Linked DNA regions of Homo sapiens: region 2 is linked to region 1. The links are contacts of gene promoters, found by promoter capture Hi-C in blood cells and fetal thymus (Javierre and others, 2016). All regions are on one chromosome and are shown on one strand. Each heading gives the region's core, a stretch centred on a gene start or on the middle of the fragment in contact. The rest is flanking DNA. Distances are from core to core; before and after follow the strand shown.

Region 1 (6,497 bases), core at 596-3,095:
AGCGGCAGGAGAGCTCAGGAAGCTTCCAGCCTCCCAGGGAGAGGTCAACACGTGCAAGCTGGGCTGTCCCTAAAGCTGCCATGGCACCTGGAAGCGTGCAGATGGAGCCCGGCTGGCACCCAGTAGGTGCTCATGTCCACTGAAAAAGCAAAGGCAAAGCCTGCTGTCCGGGGGAAGCCCTAGGGTCCCCACATGGCCACAGGGAAGTCCTGTTCCAGGTGGGCAGTTGCCCTCCTCTCACTGCGAACATGGAAAGGCACTGGCCACGAGGGGCCAATGGGGCTGTTGTGTGCACAAGGTCTGCCCCAGGGAGGGCAAAAGACACTGTCCTGGGATTTAGGAAGCTGCCTCTGAACCGGTTCTCCCACGACATCATCCTCCAGGCTGTGGGACCGTTAGGCTGGGCGGAAGTGGACTCCAGCCAAGGGGATGTTCCCAGATGTCATGCTTTCAAACTGGACCCGCCCAGAAAGGCAGGCAGAGACAGGCCTGCGCCCGGGAAAGCCCTGGGTAACGACTCAGGATGGCATTCAGGCCTTTCCTGGGCAGGGGATGGCCACAGGTTTCCCTGGCGGCGGTGTCTATCAATCCCGTCCCAAGAAGGAGAGCCTGGGCGTGGAGGTTCTGGGCAGCTGAAGGCAGAGATCCATCCCTTCCCTGGCTACCCACCCCCACCTCAGCAACGCCTCCCAGAACGCTCCAAAGCTTTCTCAAGTCCCCGCTCCCAGGTTAGGGCCCTGTAGCCAGTTCCAAGGTCTTTTTCAGGAGCGCGCTTCCCAAATAAAGTTGAGAGGGGGCGGGGGGAATGAGGGAGCCCCAGATCCACCTCAGAGTGGTCCCCAGAGGGCTTGGGCCCCTTTCTCCGGATTGTTCAGTGGGAAGGAGGGCCGGCTGGTGCCTCAGGCCCGCGGGACTGTGACAGCCGGCGACCCCTGCGACCTCCCTTTCTACCCGGGCGCCCCCACCTTGAGATAGTCGTTCTCCGAGCGCAGCTCCTCCAGCTCCCGCACCAAGCCGCTGGGCCCGCAGTCCAGCATCTCCTCGGTGAGGTCGGAGAAGGCAAGCGAGGCGCTGAGCGGCAAGCGGCTGCTGCCCACCGACGACGCGGCCACCGACGGCTCGTCCGGGGAGGCGGGCGGCCGCGGGGGCTGCTGCGCGGAGGGCGCGGGCTGGGCCGGCTGCCCCGTACGGACCCCCGCCGGGCCCCCGGCCGCGGACTCGGCGTCGCTGCTCAGCGCCAGCTCCAGGCCCAGCAGGCGCGCCTCCTCCGACGCGCAGTCCGACACCTCCGAGCTGCTATCCGTGAGGCTGGGGGGCGGCGGTGGCGGTCGCGGCCCCGCACCCGAGCGCGGACGGCCCTTGGCACGGACCCCGGTGCGGACCCCGGCCACCCGCACACCCGCACCGCGCGCCCCGGGAGCCACTGCGCGCCCCTTCTTGTCCGGCCGTGAGGAGAACGCGGCGCTGCAGGCGACTGCTGAGCCCGGGCCTGGGCCGCGGCGGCCCTTAGCCAGCGACCAGCCGGCCACGTCTTTGGGCCGGGCCGGCGACGGCGCGCGGTGGCTCTTTTTCCTCTCCGGGGCAGGCGCGGGTGCAGGCGCGGGCTGGGGACCGCAGCCCCGGACCGGGGGCTCGGCCGCCGGCGCCTCCATCGCGGCCTCCCTCGGCCTCAGCGAGCTGCGCGCATGGCCCAGGCCCGCCCGGCCTCGACGTCCCTGGGGAGGGACCCGGCGCGGCTCCGGCCGCTGGGGCTGCGGCTGCTCTCGGCCCACCTCGGCCCCGACACCGCGTCCCCGTCCCAAGCCCCGCCGCGCGGTCTCTCCGCTGCTCTGGGCTCGGAGAGTGCGGCCCGACCGCCTCCAGGCGCCCCGGCTCCGGCTGCGGCTCCGCCCGGCGCCCGCCCCCTCGGCCTCGCCGCGCCCCCGGAGCGCGCCCGGGCCCCCGCCGCCCGCACGCCGATCGCTCCCTCGGGCTCCGAGTCCGGCTGCGGCCCGGGCCCCGGCTCCGCCCGGCGCAGCCCGCCCCCCGCGCAGCCCCGCCAGCTCCCCGCCCCGCCGCCTCGGCTCGGGGGCGCGCGGTTCCGCGAACAAAAGGCGGACGCGGCGGGAGCGGCAGGGAGGGACGCAGGCAGGGAGCGAGGGAGGGATCTGCGAGGCAACAGCGACCCCTTCGAGGGTCAGGCTGGCGCGGGCAGCCGCGGCCCGGGCTCCCTCCTCCTCCGCTCCGCCGCCTCCTCCCCTGCCCGCTCGGGGAAGGCACCCGGCGGAGGCGCCCCTGCGCCCGGCGTCCGGGCAGGGCCTGCGAGAGCGGCGGGAGCCGGGACTCCCGGGCCGAGGCCGGGCGGACCTCAGTTCGCAGGAACCCGCATCCATGCACGCCCAGCGCCTCGCCCCTCGCCCCGTGCCGAGCGTGCGCGAACTCCGCCCCCTTAGCCGGCATCGCCGGAGCCGCGATCCCATCGCACAGATGCGTAAACTGAAGCCTGGGGTGCACGCGCCAAGCTCACGGTCTAGGCGGCGCCGATGGGACCCAAAGCTCACACCTCCCGGGCGCGCTCGGGCTCCCCCTGCCTCGGCTTCCCTCTCCTGGCATAGGGACCGTGAAGCCCTGTGTGCATGCCTGGCTCGCGCACCTTGACCGGCGGATATTTCTCCCCATGCGCCCCCGACCCGGGTTTCAGGCTCTGTACGGCTAAAATGGAAGCGACCCGTAGCTAGGCGCGGTGGCTCATGCCTGTAATCCCAGCACTTTGGGAGGCCGAGGCGGGTGGATCACGAGGTCAGGAGTTCGAGACCAGCCTGACCAACATGATGAAACCCCGTCTCTACTAAAAATACACAAATTAGCCGGGCGTGGTAGCGCGTGCCTGTAATCCCAGCTACTCGGGAGGCTGAGGCAGGAGAATCGCTTGAACCCGGGAGGCGGAGGTTGCAGTGAGCCGAGGTCGCGCCACTGCACTCCAGTCTGGGTGGCAGAGCTAGACTCCATCTCAAAAAAATAAACAAATAAATAAAAACAAAAATAAAATGGAGGGGACCTATTACGAGATGTCAGCCTAGCGGATGCTTTGGAAGGCGGTTTTGGCCCCCGTGGGGGCTGGCATGGGCTGGGACGGTTGCCCTGACCCCACACGTCCCCACCAGGAGCAGTGCAGGAGGACTTGAGCTCTGATGGGCGTGTTTTCTTTCCTCCCGGGCGTCTGGGCGTCTCCTTGGCTCCTGGCCGTGTTGATTTTCCCATGTCTCTCACACCTTCCCCAGCCCCCACACCGCCTGGCCGCTACGCCCCCATCCCTGAGCCACCGCAGGGCAGAGCTGGATTGAGTGCTTTGCCCCACAGATGTACCCTCGTCCTTAGGGTGCCCCACACCCCTTGCCACCAGAAGGGCAGGGCTGTTTTTGCCCCTTTACAACCTCTTTCTCCTCCTGTTCTCTCCTCCCCCTCCCATTTATCCCCTGCTCTTTCTTCCTCCTTCTTCTCCCATCTTTCCCCTTCCTTTCCCCCCTCCTTTTCCAAGTCTTCCTTTTCCTCCTCTTTCCCCTCTTCTTCCTCCTGCCCATTTTCTCCTTCTTCTTCCTCCCCCAATTCCCTTCCTTCACCTCTGCACCTGCCTGTGACACAGCAGGCACCAGGTCCACTTCTTTGTCTCTGTCCCACCTCCCCCACACGCTGTGAATACACTCCTGGGGCATCCCCTCTCTCCAGAGGCATGACTTCATCTGGATCCAGGTGAGTGAGTGCTCCTCCACCCCAACGCTAGGTGCCCTCCATACGGCCAAGTGAGGAGCAGGCACTCAGCAGGCTCTTGGCAAACACTTCCGCAGGGGCATCCCCACCCCCTCCTAGCAAGACACCAGCTCCCCTCACGGCCCACTGACTGTCCACAAACCCTGTTTGCACAGGCGCCAGGTACACTGAGGGACGCAGTGGTGGGCATGTCAGTGCCTGAACTCATGGAGCACACAGTGTGTGTTGGGGGGGACCACAAAAGACTCAGCACAAACAGGGTGGCATGGCATGTGGGCAGGAGTGCTGGAGAAGGATGTGGGAGCCGCAGGCTAGTGACCCAGGGCAGGCCTTCCCACATTCCGGGCCTCAGAGTCCCCACCTGCTCTGGTCTAATGTAACAGATGACAGGGTCCATCCAGCTCAGATGCCCCTGGCTCTAGTAGGCTGCATCTAGTCTGGCACAGAAAGATGCTGTGAAGCTCTTGGAAAGTGTGTCCTCTCTCTGTGCTTCAGTTTCTGCCCCTGTGCAGAACATAGGTTTGGAGGTGTTGGGTGGTGTGAATGCAGGGACATAGCAGACCAGGCTGGCTCAGCCACTCCTGACACACCCTTGGTCACATCAGTGGTCCTGAGATTAGAGTGGCCTGCATCTCTCTTCTAGGGCAGGGATCTGAGTCCTGGCTCTACCACCTATCCTCTCTGGGCCCAACACTCATGGCTGGCCAGGGAGGGGCCTGTGGGTCCCACCTGCTCTGAGGTGCTTTGGATTTGGGGAGTCAAGAATCTACATTGTAGACCCAGGGAAGCCTTGAGAACAACAGGGCTCTGGTGGGGAGGGACTAGGTGGGGCTGACGTAGGGGCTGTGGACTCAGGGTCAGTTCAGACCAGGGATACCACAAAGGAGATAAGACTTGTTGAGAGTCCAGAACTGGCTACATTGTAGACGGGGTGACCGTCCTTGCGCCGGCACATCCTGCAGCTGTGTGATGCGTGGCCTCTTCCTGTGTGCCGGGCTCTGTGCTCCACATTTCAGTAAAGGATCTCCAAAAGGTGAAGATACTTCTTGTGACTGATTAATATTTTCCAAAGGGTATATCTCATCCCAATTGCTCTTCTTACAATGTGACACTGATGCTCCTCCAATTGAGCGGCACATGTGTGCGGCACGTGTGTGGGGGCACTGTGTGCCCCCACCTTGAATCTCAGCAGATCTTGTGACTGTCTCAACCAACAGAGTATGGCAGAAGTGTTCATCTGTGACTTCCAAGGTTAGGTCATAAAAAGCAACATGGATTCCACCCAGCTTGCTTCTCTCTCTCTTTCTCTCTCTCTGTCTCTCTGGCCACTCACCCACCATGATAGGAGGAAGCCCAGGCCTCATGGGGAGACCGCATGAAGGTGATCTAGCCAACAACTCCAGCTCTGGTCCCCACTAACCACCAGACATGTGAGAGAGTGAGCCTGCAGATGATTCAGCCCCCAGACTTGGAGCTGCCCCAGTGGACAAGTGGAGCAGAAATGAGCTGTCTCACCAACCCTGCCCAAACTGCAAAATAAGTATTGTTGTTTTCGGCCACTAAGTTTTGGGGTCATTTGTTACATAACACTGGGTAGCTGGAATGTGTGACCAAGGTCACACAGCTTGGATGTGGCAGGGCTGGGATTGACTTGAACCCAGAGCTGCCCAATTCCAGGGCCTGTTGTGGTACCCTATTGGGCTGCGAAGTGCCCAGCACAGACACACAGTGTGTGCTGCAGAAAGCGCTACTCAAAAGAGACTGAAGCATTACCTTGTAAGAATTATATAACATAGGAAGTGAAGATGCTGATTACCCAAGTAGAAAAACGGTTTCATTTCTCCCATTCAAGCTGCTAAATTGACCAACGTGATGAAAACTGAATGGAGACTCACTCCTGGAAAGCTTCCAAGAGGAGGTGTGTTTTTTCCTTTTAAACTAAAGTTGTTTTGTTTTGTTTTTTCATTATACAGATTAAAAAACAAGCAACTGGCTATGGGAAAATTAGAGGAATCGGTCGGGAAACCTCATTAAATAGGGGAGTCAGGAAGGCCTCTCAGAGAAGGCAGCCTTTTTTGTTTTTGTTTTTGTTTTTTGTTTTTTGTTTGAGATGGAGCCTAGCTTTGTTGCCAGGCTGGAGTGCAGTGGTGCAATCTTGGCTCACTCCAACCTCTGCCTCCTGGGTTCAAGCGATTCTCCTGCCTCAGCCTCCCAAGTAATTGGGATTACAGGCATGCGCCACCATGCCCAGCTAATTTTTGTATTTTTAGTAGAGACGGGGGTTTCACCATGCTGGCCAGGATGGTCTCGATATCCTGACCTTGTGATCTGCCCACCTTGGCCTCCCAAAGAGCTGGGATTACAGGTGTGAGCCACTGCACCCAGCCAAGGAGGCAGCCTTTAAACTGAGTTATTCTTTTTTTTTTTTTTTTTTTTTTTTTGAGACAGAGCTGTCGCCCAGGCTGGAGTGCAGTGGCGCGATCTTGGCTCACTGCAAGCTCCACCTCCCAGGTCCACGCCATTCTCCTGCCTCAGCCTCCAGAGTAGCTGGGACTACAGGCGCCCGCCACCACACCTGGCTAATTTTTTTGTATTTTTAGTAGAGACGGGGTTTCACTGTGTTAGCCAGGACGGTCTCGATCTCCTGACCTTGTGATCTACCCGCCTCGGCCTCCCAAAGTGTTGGGATTACAGGTGTGAGCCACTGTGCCTGGCCTAAACTGAGTTATTCAAGGAGCCACTGAACAGTT
Region 2 (6,313 bases), core at 2,038-4,537, 620 kb before region 1:
CAGCCTGGCCAACATGGTGAAACCCCATCTGTACTAAAAATACAAAATTAGCTGGGTGGTGTGCACCTGTAGTCCCAGCTACTCTGGAGGCTGAGGCAGGAGAATCACTTGAACCCAGGAGGCAGAGGTCGCAGTGAACCAAGACCTCGCCATTGCACTCCAGCCTGGGCAACAAGAGCCGTCTCAAAAATATATATACATATATCATCTAGTGAACATTCTCGTGTGTACTTACACATACATTTAGGGATAGAATTGCTGGGTCAGACTGTGCATGTTGCCAGGAGAAGGTTTTTGCATCCTTGCTGGCTGGTAGGAACCTGTTGCCCATCACCTTTGACAGCATTGGGCATGACAGTTTAACAAAGGCCTCTTCCAATTGGATAGCTGAAAAATGGCACCTTGTTTATATTTCTTTATTTCTTAAATACTAGTGACAGCAAATATGTGTCACATTTTGAACAGCTATTTTTATATATATTTATAAATTTTCCAGGTAATTTGCATATTTTCTTGTTGGAAGTTCAGTGAGAAATTTGAATGTAGGACTTCTTTTTTTTTTTTTTTTTTTTTTGAGACAGGGTTTCGCTGTGTCGCCCAGGGTGGAGTACAGTCAGTCACACAATCATGTCTTACTGCCACCTCAACCTCTCGGGCCCAAGTGATCCTTCTGCCTCGGCTTCCCAAAGTGCTGGGATTACTGTGCCTAGACAGGACTTTTTATATCATTGGCTCAGCTAATGATATAACCTATATTTTAACAGGTACATCTTTTGTTGTTGTTGTTGTTGTTGTTGTTGTTGTTGTTGTTGTTGTTGAGACGGAGTCTTGCTCTGTCGCCCAGGCTGGAGTGCAGTGGTGTGAGTTCGGCTCACTGCAAGCTCCGCCTCCCGGGTTCACGCCATTCTCCTGCCTCAGCCTCCTGAGTAGCTGGGACTACAGGCGCCCGCCACCACGCCCGGCTAATTTTGTTTTGTATTTTTAGTAGAGACAGGGTTTCACCATGTTGGCCAGGATGGTCTCGATCTCCTGACCTCATGATCCACCTGCCTCAGCCTCCCAAAGTGCTGGAATTACAGGCGTGAGCCACCGCACCCAGCCTTTAACAGGTACATCTTAATGCATTAGTATTTTCGTATAATAAGTAACTTTTAAAAGTCTGGCTTAAAAATGAATAGAAATCCTGTCTTTCTACCTCTTAAACATTTCAATTCTTCAAAATATATCTTGCGAAAAGGTCTGTTACAGGAATAACTTTGTTGGTTTTTTTTTTTTTTTTTTTTTGAGACAAGGTCTCACTCTGTGACATGGGCTGGAGTACAGTGGCATGATCACAACTCACTGCAGCCTCAACCTCCTGGGCTCAACTGAGCCTCCCACCTCAGCCTCCCAAGTAGGTGGGACTTCAGGTGTGTGCCACCACGCCCAGCTAATTATTTTTGGTTGAGATAGGGTCTCCCTGTGTTGCCCAAGCTTGTCTCAAACTCCTGAACTCAAGCAATCCTCCTCCACTGACCTCTCAAAGGGCTAGGACTATCCCTGCCACCGCACCTGTCCAGGGATAATTTTGAATCTACATCACACCTCTTTGAAAAATATAATTTAATTTTAGATAAAGTCAGAAATGCACAAATTTAATAAATGTCCTAAACGCAAATAATAGGCTAATATTTAGTTTCACAAACCAAGTAAAGCCAGCTGAAGAAGCAAATCATTAACCTATATTATACAAAGAAAATTTGACTATATTTGAAAATATTGGTCAGAAATCCAAAATTTCTAAACCAGGTAGCTATTCACACAAATCAAACTTAGTTCCGTATGCTTAGGAACAGGGAGCTAGTTTTTCCAGGTCTCTGGAGGTGGCACAGATCAAACGCCATGCATTTAAAGAGGTATTTGGTGTTGAGTACATCTCTTCTTTTTATGGCCCACATGTATGTATACCTCATTAAATTTCCAGCCACCTTTGAAGTAGAGAGAATGCCTGTGATGAGGAGCAGTATTCTGTGGTAACCAGAGACCCAGTTACTTGCCCAGGGACAGTGGTGTCTGGATCATCAGGTCTCTGTTTGAGATGGGCATCTGATAGAAATTGGGAACATAATATTTTTTGAGTGCTACTTTGTGCCAGGTCTTATTCTAAATGCTATACATGTACTATATCCATTCATGTAATCTTTGCTACAACCCTCAAATAAGGAAATTGAGGCCTTAATAGATTGAGTAACTTGCCCAAGGTCACACAGCTGCTAAGTGGCAGAGCTAAGATTTGAAGCTAGGCAGTTTGGCTCCAGAGCCCATGCTCTTAGCCACCAAGCTGCTCATAGAGATTAAATCACAGAGCCCTGTGGTTAAGCAAACAAAAATAATCTGCCTGGCAGGCTGACCCTGGAATAAGTACTCATGAATTTTTCTTTTGTGGGAGGTTCCAGAACTGTTCCCACCCAATGGAGAATCTGTTTTATCTTTCCGTTGCCCACATTGTGAAGCATTAGATGTGTGGCCTTGGGCAAGCCCTTGACCTTATCTATGAAATGAGGCAAATACCATCTTCCTGATCGCCTTGTGGAGTTGGGCTGAGGGTTACATGGTATAGTGCAGTATTTCCTGACCCTGGAGCAGACCATCCACATTAGAATCACCTGGGGAGCTTGTTAGAGCTACAGATACGAAGGCCCCATCATCTCTCCTCCACCAGAACCTCTGAGGGTGAAGCTTGGGTAGCTTTACTTTTAACAGACTCTCAGTGATTCTGATGGGCAGCCAGGTTTGAAATCCACTTGGCATAATATCCATGAACACATTTTGTAAACTTAAAATGCCAGGCAAATACTGGGAATACCTCTTCTCTAGCAGTCTGATTTTATAGAAATCCAAAGCCACAGGTTGGTTTCCCATGGCTTGAATTCATAGCGGTTCAGCAGACATCTATTGAGTACCTGTTAGGTGCAAAATCTCCTGCCAGGCTCTGCAGGAGTGACAAGGATAAAAGCTCATCTGTTGCTGAGGTCCAGTGGAATTCATGGCCTTGTGAATAGTGATGGAGAGTGTCAGCTGGTCCTCCTCTCCCTCAGAATCACTTCTCCTCTCTGCACCTTTCAGGTGAACTCCAGTTTGCTTTTGTGTGCTTCCTGCTGGGGAATGTGTACGAGGCATTTGAGCATTGGAAGCGGCTCCTGAACCTCCTGTGCCGGTCAGAAGCAGCCATGATGAAGCACCACACCCTCTACATCAACCTCATCTCCATCCTGTACCACCAGCTTGGTGAGATCCCCGCTGACTTCTTCGTAGACATTGTCTCCCAAGACAACTTCCTCACCAGCACCTTACAGGTGAGCAGTCTTTCTGACTGAGCTGATGCACATGTGGGTCAGAATTGAGGCAACAGTATGTGTTTTGTTTCTCGCTATTCTTCCATGACCCCAAAATTTTTAAATTTCAGTTTCCTAGTCTTGGGATATTTCCTGCTTTTCTCTCTCTTACTCAATTGTAAGTGCCTCTATGCCAGAAATTTTCTCTCTGTACCACCCTCTCCCTACACCTCGTCCCCAGAGTGCCTAACACTGGGGTACTTGGATTTGAATTCCTCCCACTGCTTTGGTTTACTCAGCTTAAAACAGCGTTTCTTTCTCCCTGTAGCCATGAATTGCTACAACCCAGTAAAGCAGAATTTTGAAGTTTGTTATTCCCAGTGAAACATCTGCAGCTCCTTAGATCTCATTTAAGCATTAAAATAACTTTGATTTCCTGTTCAAACAAAATGTGCCAGTTTCTGCAGAGATTCTATGACAGAAAAAGTGAAATTTGCTTTTAACTTGGCAATTAAATTTTCATTATGAGTGGTAATTAGGAAAGAAGCTTCAAACAACTTACAATCTTCATCCTATGCTATTTCCTCCCTTTGCAAACAGATTAGTCCTTTATGTACTTGGGACAGCCTCTGTCACTCACATTGTGTAACTTTCTCAAGAATAGAAGAGGCAGAAGCTGCCACTGTCAGTTTCCATACTTTCCCTCCCATGAGCTTCTTTCTTCTCCCTGTGTGTAATACCCCCATGAGGCCTGCTCCATATAAGGCAGCCTTTCACCAACCTTCCAATCCCACTCGGGGTAACAGAAGGGACGAGCATTCGTTAAATATTGGGGCTGGGCGTGGTGGTTCATGACTGTAATCCCAACACTTTGGGAGGTGAAGGCAGGAGGATCACTTGAGCCCAGGAATTAAAGACCAGCTTGGGCAATATAGTGAGACCCCGTCTCTCCAAAAATTAAAAAATTGGCCAGGTATGGTCATGTGCACCTGTAGTCCTAGCCACTTGGGAGGCTGAGACAGGAGGATCACTTAGCCCAGGAGTTTGAGGCTATAGTGAGCAATGATTATGATCGTGCCACTGCACTCCAGCCTGGGCAACAGAGTGAGACCCTGTTCACTCATTGAATCCCTTTGGAGCCTTGTAAGATGGGGGTATTATTCCCATTTTACAAATGGGAACACTTGAGAATGGTTAAATCACTTACTTGAAGTCATACAGCTGGCAGGTGGAGGTCAGGATTTGTACCCAGGCCTGAGTCTTGGTTTCCTGCCTGTGCTTATGCCCTTGTGTAGTGAACACAGTGTGAATCCCCCAGAAAGGATTCTTGATTGACATCAGTGAAGACTTCATCGAGGTCCTGTTTCTCAGAGGTACAGAACGCTTTTCTAAAGCCAACCTACTGTTGGATGAGTCCCTGTGAGCAGGCATCTGACTTAAAGCTGGCAGTTGAAGGACCTGTGTAAACCATGGCAATGAGTCAGTCAAGCGCATGATTTGAGCCTGGTCTGTTCCACTCAGAAGAGCTATAAAACTGTCCTTTTACTGGTTCTTCATATAACAGAGAAATTAAACCCCTTTGTCCTTCCTCTGTGGGGAAAATTTTCCCCAAAGGTACTGGTTATGGGTTGTGAGGCAGTGTGAGGAGGCATTAGCCTGCTAACTTGCCTCTGGCAGTGGCTGCTTCCCTCCTGATGCACGTTGATGCGTCGCACAGACACAGGAGGGCCACGGTGTTGCTGGCTGTCCAGACCATTGTTAGCACAACCAGCAGCTGAGCTCTATAATTGCCAGGCTTTGTTGCCAGCAATGATTTACAAAGCAGAAAGTGCCCAGCTGGATTGCTAGATGCCCAGGTGGGTTGTGCAAAGCTGATGGTTGGAAACATTCAGTCTTTGAACTTTTCACCAAGAAAATTCGATGTCATTATTTGGAAAAATCCAGGGCATGTGCCAAAACAAAACAAAACAAAACAAAAAACACATGTCTTTGAGCATTCTTCATATATAACATTCTACTGAAAGTGTTGAGGAATATATATACATGTGAGTTAGCCAGGGTTCCTGCCCTCAAGGGATTTGTTCATTGATTTAGCAGGTAATTGCTGAGCATCTGCTGTATAGAAGACTCTGTTCTAGAACTGGGAATATAGCTGTGAGCAAGACAGAGTCATTGTCTTGACTCTTGTAATTTGAGAAAGTTAACAGAAAGTTAACTAGCCAAGTAACTCCAGATAGCAGACTCTTGTATTTTGAGAAAGTTAACAGAAAGTTAACTAACCAAATAGCAGTAAGCAGGTAGCAGTAAGTGTTTTAGAAGGCAGTCCTGCCCTAGTACCATTTCCCTAGCCCCGGCCTTTTGGTCTCACCTAGACTGCATCGGAGTTTACCAGCCTCCGTGCTTACCAGTTACCCCATCTCTCTCCCACACTGCCACCTGAGGTGCTGCTCCATAATGCAGCTGTGATCCTGCTTCTCTGTGGCTCCTCATTGCGTGGAAAATTAAAAGCCTAAACATTGGTCGCAAAGGCCATTCTGATCTGGCTTCTTATCCTGTTCTCCAGCTTCTCTTTCCTCTCCGTTTTCCCCCATCAACTCCAGCAACAGTGGTCTCTTTGCAGGTTCCTGGACAGGTTATGCTGTTTCATGCTTTTTAAAAAAAAAAATTGTTGTAAAAAACAGCTGGTCCATGGTGGCTCACGCCTGTGATCTCAGCACTTTGGGAGGCCGAGGCTGGAGGATCACTTGAGGTCAGGAGTTAGAGACCAGCCTGGCCAACATGGTGAAACCCCCATGTCTACTAAAAATACAAAAATTAGCCAGGCATGGTGGTGGGCGCCTCTAGTCCCAGCTACTCAGGAGGCTGAGGCAGGAGAATCTCTTGAACTGGGGAAGCAGAGGTTGCAGTGATTCGAGATTGCACCACTACACTCCAGCCTGGGCAAAAACAGTGAGACTTTGTCTCAAAAAAAAATAATAAAAATAAAATTGTGGTAAAAA

What was found. The method cuts DNA at HindIII sites, captures the fragments that hold promoters and counts their contacts. A CHiCAGO score of 5 or more calls a contact.
Region 2: a fragment that was not itself captured here is called in contact with the fragment with the promoter of MTCL2 in region 1 in 1 of 17 cell types (naive B cells); the score reaches 6.5 in naive B cells.

What each region holds. Positions count from the first base shown.
Region 1 is chr20:36,861,693-36,868,189 of GRCh38, forward strand. MTCL2 (microtubule crosslinking factor 2) reads right to left here and starts at 1,846. Exons shown (of 15, transcript NM_080627.4): 1 at 966-1,846. The coding sequence starts at 1,652. RefSeq lists silencers at 1,446-1,595, 1,666-2,555, 5,397-5,466. The HindIII fragment of the contact is 4,947 bases long and covers 704-5,650 here.
Region 2 is chr20:36,241,592-36,247,904 of GRCh38, forward strand. It overlaps AAR2 (AAR2 splicing factor), which reads left to right. Exons shown (of 4, transcript NM_001271874.2): 3 at 3,106-3,335. Among named protein-coding and RNA genes, the nearest start is that of AAR2, 8.3 kb to the left of the region's middle. The HindIII fragment of the contact is 1,143 bases long and covers 2,717-3,859 here.